Linked DNA regions of Homo sapiens: region 1 is linked to region 2. Evidence: promoter capture Hi-C in 16 types of primary human blood cells and fetal thymus (Javierre and others, 2016). All regions are on one chromosome and are shown on one strand. The core of a region is centred on a gene start or on the middle of the fragment in contact, and the rest is flanking DNA. Distances in the headings are between cores, read along the strand shown. Region 1 overlaps CAMTA1 (calmodulin binding transcription activator 1). Region 2 holds the start of CAMTA1-AS1 (CAMTA1 antisense RNA 1).

Region 1 (3,239 bases), core at 691-3,190, 110 kb after region 2:
CAACAAAACATTTTCTCTGACAAAACCACATCAGAACTCTCAAATCAGGAAACAAACATTGATACATGTCTATCAACTAATCCTGTCTTCAATGACATTTTACCGATTGTTCCAATGATGTCAGCATCACGGGTCACATTTAATAGTTGCGTCCTTCAGTCTCGAGCAGTTCTTCATTTTGTCATTGACTTTTGTGACCTTGACATTTTTGAAGATTACAGACCAGTTACTTTATAAGGCTGCCCCTCAGTTTGGTTTTGTCTGATGTTTTCTTGTGATTAGACTCAGGTGGTGCATCTTGAGCAAGAGCCTCACATAAGGGATACTGAGCTCTGTCTGGTGGCCCAGGATTTCCAATTTTTTTTTTCTCTTCAACTTTTAAGTTCCAGGATACATGTTAGGATGTACCCTGGATGTGCAGGTTTGTTACATAGGTAGACATGTGCCATGGTGGCTTGCTACACAGATCAACCCATCATTTAGCTATTAAGCCCAGCATCCATTAGCTATTCTTTCTGATGCTCTCCCTCCCCACCCCCACCACCAGGCCCCAGTGTGTGTTGTCCCCCCGGACATGTCCATGTGTTCTCATTGTTCAGCTCCCACTTACAAGTGAAAACATGTGGTGTTTGGTTTTCTTTTCTTTTCTTTTTTTTTTTTTTTTGAGACGGAGTCTCGCTCTGTCGCCCAGGCTGGAGTGCAGTGGCTCAATCTCAGCTCACTGCAAGCTCCACCTCCCGGGTTCACACCAGTCTCCTGCCTCAGTCTCCCGAGTAGCTGGGACTACAGGCACCTGCCACCACGCCTGGCTAAATTTTTGTATTTTTTAGTAGAGACAGGGTTTCACCGTGTTAGCCAGGATAGTCTCGATCTCCTGACCTCGTGATCCACCCACCTCAGCCTCCCAAAGTGCTGGGATTACAGGCGTGAGCCACTGCGCCCGGCCTGGTTTTCTATTCCTGGATTAGTTTGCTGAGGATAACAGCTTCCAGTTCTATCCATGTCCCTGCAAAGTACATGTTCTCATTCCTTTTTATGGCTGTATAGTATTCAATGGTGTATATGTACCACATTTTTAAAATCCAGTTTATCATTGATGGGCATTTGGGTTAATTCTGTGTCTTTGCTATTGTGAATAGTGCTGCAATGAACATACACATGCATGTATCTTTATAACAAAATGATTTCTATTCCTTTGGGTATATAACCAGTAATGGGATTGCTGGGTCAAATGGTATTTCCACTTCTAGATCTTTGAAGAATTGCCCCACTGTCTTCCAAAATAGCCGAACTAATTTACATTCCCACCAACAGTGTAACAGCGTTTCTTCTTGTCTGCAACATCGCCAGCATCTGTTGTTTTTTAACTTTTTAATGATCACCATTCCGACTGGCATGAGATGGTATCTCATTGTGGTTTTGATTTGCATTTCCCTAATGATCAGTGACGTTGAGCACTTTTTCATATGCTTGTTGGCTGGACGAACGTCTTATTTTGAAAAGTGTCTGTTGATGCAGGATTTCCATTTTACTCATGACTGGTGATGTTCACCTTGACCACTTAATTCAGGTGGTGTCTGCAAGGCTTCTCCACTGTAAGCTTACTCATTTTCTGTTTGTAGTTAATAAATATTTTGTGAGAAAGTACTTTCATAGTATATGCAAGTATTCCCCATCAGACTTTCAGTTTTTATTCATTTGTTTATGTATAACCTTATTTTATTCAATGGATTATAATCTATTACCATTGTTATTTATTTCAGTGTTCATGTTGTCTCAGATTTGGTTGGTGGACCTCCATTCAAGCTGGTTTCTGGGTCATTTGATATAAGCCCAATCATTCTTTGAGCACTTCCTTGCTTTCTGAACAAGATGTTCCAGGCATATCTTGTACTTTCCTGAAATCAACCATTTCTCCAAAGAAACCTGGTTTCTTTTAGTGGAAAGTGGTGTTTAGAAGCCAAGATCTGGGCCTGAGTATGCTCACTGCTCCCAGGCCTCTCTCAGTAGATAGAGCTGGGGAATATATGTATCATATGCACACACACACACACACACACACACACACACACACACACACAGAGTTGGCCTTCCACATTCATGAGTTTCGCATCCGTGGATTCAACCAACAACGGGCCAAAAATATCCAGGAAAAAAATTGCATTTGTACCAAACATATTTTTTTCTTATGATTATTCCCTAAATAAAACAGTATAAGAAATATTTACATAGCATTTACATTGTTACTAGGTATTATAAGTAATCTAAAGATGATTTAAATCAAGCTTGTCCAACCCATGGCTTGTGGGCTGCCTGTGGCCCAGGACAGCTTTGAATGTGGCCCAACACAAATTCATAAACTTTCCTAAAACATTATGAGACTTTTTTGCAATTTTTTTTTTTTTTAGCTCATCAGCTACCGTTAGTGTTAGTATATTTATGTGTGGCCTAAGAGAATTATTCTTCCAACATAATCTCCCTGTACACAACCAGTCTCACATCTCTGCCACCCCATGTGGGCCCCCTCCAAACCCAGACTCTGACACCCCTTGCAAGGGCACTCCACTGTGTGGACCCCCCACTCACCCGTCAATATGCCCTTATGCTGTTGTAAGGAGGATTCTGAAGCCATCTCCAGGCTCAGGGGAAACAGTGACGTGATTGATTAGTAATGTCTGCCATGAACAGAGGGACAGGAAGGGTTCCTGCCACACATATGCTGGCCCCGACTTAAGATGGTCAGTGTGAGCATTTATATTGATCAGGTGACCATATCGTTTTGAGAGAGAAATAAGAATTAACAATTGCAAACAATAAAAGTTGACAGTTATGCTGGGCAACAGGCATTAACCAGGTCACTGGTCATGCCCTGTATGGGTACTGAGGAAGCACAGTTCTGGGTCTGCTCTGTGGTTTTCGACCCTCTGTGTTGGGCACATGTCTACAGTTTCCAGCAGCTCCTTTGCCACCTCCCCCAACTCCTTGCCCTCTTCTGTAGACTGTGGGAGGGTCTGGCAAGCCTCCTTAAGGAGGAAGATTCCCATGCAGGGTGCGCCTTAGGAATGGAGGTGCCCATGGAGGGCACCCCTTAAGGGTGGAGGTGCCCGTGCAGGGTGCCCCTTAGGAGTGGAGGTGCTGGTGGAGGGTGCCCCCTTAGGAGTGGAGGTGCTGGTGGAGGGTGCCCCTTTAGGGGTGGAGGTGCTGGTGGAGGGTGCCCCCTTAGGGGTGGAGGTGCCCGT
Region 2 (3,193 bases), core at 317-2,816:
ACCCGCACTGGGCATCCCATGTGCCCCACATCTCTGGCACATTAGCCCATGGCTCAGGTGGCACTGGCCCCGTGGCATAGGCGAGAGGGCAGGCTAGGGACTGCTCCTACCAGTGTGTCTTGGGCTCTGTGCCCACTACCTGGTGGGGAGAGGTGTCCACTTTGTCCACTTCATGGCATGGGAGCCGATGCGGCTTCAATCCTGACTCCGCAGCTGCCTCCTGACCAGTCAGCAATCGGGAGCCCCGACCTCTTCCCTCTCCATCCTCACTGCAGCCTGGGCAGGCCGGAGGCCAATGTCCCCAGGGCAGAGCTGGGACAGTCCCAGTGGGAAGGAGGCCTGGCCGGGCCAGACAGCAGCCTGGGAAGGAGCCGTGTGTTGCCTGGGAGTTCCACGGCACCGGCTGAACCTGCATCTTGAAGGTTTGATTGATTGCGTCGTTCAGAGTGAATATATTTTTTAATAATCGGTTTCCAAAATTAGTCTTTCTCTGTGTAGCAGCTATCACAAACAGCATGAGACGCACTCCTTTTATTTTTTTTTTACCTGCCAGAGGCAGATATTTGTTTTTCCTTCAAGAGAGCAGCAGGTGAAGGTGTGGTCCCCGGATCCCAGCACCTGGAAGCTGCGGTCTGGTCCTGCCTGCTTGGAGCCTGTGGGCCGAGAAAGACAGGGGCAGAGGCAGCCTGACCAAACCTCCTCTTGCTCCCACTCTCCGTGGCTTGCGGGCCAAGCGACATCAGCTCTGCACCCCTCGGTTTCCTTAGCCGATGGCGATGGTTTGATTACTTCATCACACTGTTTTGGGATTAAGACAGGACAAGCTTAGTGCACACATTATAGCTGCTCAGTGCCCATTCAGTAACTGGTAGCTTGGTCCTCCTACCTCGTGCCCTTGCGGTAGCTCTGGGAAGCCAACTCTGTCTCCATTTGACTGGTCCTACAGGTGCGGGTTTTAAACCCTACGTCACCCACATCTCCTTTTGGACATCACAAAACTCCTGAGGTGCCCAGCCCACTTACCCCCAAGTGCTCACCTTCTGTGAGCTCCTGAGCTTCTTCACCAGCTGAGATTTTTCCTTGTGGAGTTTTCTACTTCTGTTGTTTGTAATTCAAACTAATAAGTTCTTCCTGCATTTGAAAAATGAAAACATGGTGTAATATTGAATGTTGCTGTTCAAACTGCTCCCCACACCCAGCATTTTGCAATGTCCCCCAGGGGCACACACCCTTGATGCTTGACTGAAAAACTACCATACCAGTGACTGTCTGTATCTCATTGGCCTGAGAAATTAAAAGCTGCTACTGTGTTACATTAAGTGTCTGCTGTACGCACCGCCCTGGGCTGGGCCAGTCCTGGGGGATAAAGAACAGTATCAGAAAGATACTCAGACAGAGCTGTCTCTGTGGTGGAGGAGATGAGAGCTAAGAGAAGTGAAAATGCAGAGCCGAGGCCAGGCCATCCCGCAGTGTCCACTGGTGCAGGGGTGGGCTGCGGGTCGCGAGCCACGGGAGCTTGCAAAAGGGAAGGGCATGGCTTGAAGTCAGCTTCCCGGAAGAGGAAGAGGCGGTCCTTGGCTGATGGCAGAATTTGCATGGGCTGATAGGAAGGGACGGCTTCAAGGTTGAGTTGGCTAACAACTCGAGCCAAGGCCCAGAGGTGGGGATGAGTTTGCTGCCAAAGGGGACGGCTGGCAGGAAGCTACTCAGTGTGCTTGTTCGTCTCGCTCATTAATTGGGCACAAAGAGCAGCAAATCCCATCCCCATCCCGAGGCCCTGCAGCATGGTAGGATCATGCCCACTTCTCCCTGCTCTTAGACCAACGTGGGTTCTGCCTCCCCTGCCCAAAGCGTAGGCGCAGACTCTGGGTGGAATCAAGGTGCAAAGGAGGCCTCGATTCCGGCGGTTTCAGAGGGCTGCTCCCTGCGTAAGTCATCCACCCATCCTCTTGTTACCCCACCTCTGGCTTCTGGGGGCCCCAGGACTTCCCCAGCGCTGTCCTCAGCCCTGAAACCTCCATGGGGTTTCCATGGAGAAGTGCTGACAATTTTGTTTCTACTCTCCCAGTTCTTCCTGAAATTCATCTGCATCAAAGTGAGATCCCTTATGCTCAGCGCTCAGCAAGGCTGTGGTGATTAAGCACTTAAATTGATTAATCAAATTTCCTGTGATGAGAACTACTGTCATTCATTAATCTGAGCGGGATTATAAATAAGAGATGGCAGATACAGGAGACAACCGTGTTGACAGATGGACACGGTGGCCTGAATCACAAGTAGGTGCCTGCTTCCTGGGGGCTTTCGCTGTGGGCAGCTGGGGACGGAGCTTCCCTAAAGACAAAATTATTCGGAGATTGAAGTATCCCCATTTTAATAACGAAATATGCATAGATGAGCAGGCAGCCGGTACAGGGAGCACGTAGGTTCGCATACCAATGGCCCGGTTGTATTCATGGAGGTGGTAGCAGCAGCTCCAAGAGATAAAGAATCTGCTAGAAAAAGAGGCCAAAGCAAAGTGGCACACGGGTTGAGAATATGGGTTTGAGGGTCAGAGCAGCCCTGGGTGCAAATCCTGCCTCCATGGTTTACTCAACGCGTGACTTGGCTGAGGTTCTCAATCTCCCAGAGCCTCCATTCCCTCACTGGCAAAATGCGGATGCTGATAATCCTGATTCCACTGGGTTGTTGTTAAGAGTAAATGAGACAATATCTATGAGGCACTTTTTATCTAGTTTACAAACATTTATTGAGCACCTACTGTATGTCAGTACTGTGCTGGTATTTAGAGATTGGCAAGGAATAAAGCAAGCATGGTCCCTGCCCCCAGAGCTGGTGTTCTTATGGAGAAGGCAGACACTGAGACTCAAGGGCTATGACACAGTGCTACTGCCCTGGCCTTCCCAGATGCCACATTCTCTGTTGACCTCCTGGACTCAGGATGTCCTTTCCATCCCTGTCTTTGAACACTTCTTCCTGCCTGTGGTCTCTCCTTGCCCCTGCGCAGATCCTCCTCCTGACTTCTTGGCCTCATTCACTCCAACAGAACTGTCCCTCCCAGCTCAAGTATACTGTGTCTCTACCCAAGTCAAAGCCCTGGATGACGGCTGCAAAGCATAAGGCTTCGGGTTCCCAGCTCAGTCACACATAAGCTTCATACCCTAGACGTGTATGATGATCTGCATGAAGTCCATTT

Evidence for each region. Contacts are between HindIII fragments. The CHiCAGO score rates a contact against its expected background, and 5 or more counts as called.
Region 1: a fragment that was not itself captured here is called in contact with the fragment with the promoter of CAMTA1-AS1 in region 2 in 2 of 17 cell types (M2 macrophages and M1 macrophages); the score reaches 7.7 in M2 macrophages.

Annotation. Positions count from the first base shown.
Region 1 is chr1:7,545,310-7,548,548 of GRCh38, forward strand. The region is part of intron 6 of CAMTA1 (calmodulin binding transcription activator 1); the gene reads left to right. Among named protein-coding and RNA genes, the nearest start is that of CAMTA1-AS1, 110 kb to the left of the region's middle. The HindIII fragment of the contact is 685 bases long and covers 1,599-2,283 here.
Region 2 is chr1:7,440,051-7,443,243 of GRCh38, forward strand. CAMTA1-AS1 (CAMTA1 antisense RNA 1) reads right to left here and starts at 1,567. Exons shown (of 2, transcript NR_187278.1): 1 at 1,038-1,567; 2 at 517-798. All of the region lies in intron 5 of CAMTA1 (calmodulin binding transcription activator 1), which reads left to right. The HindIII fragment of the contact is 2,325 bases long and covers 823-3,147 here.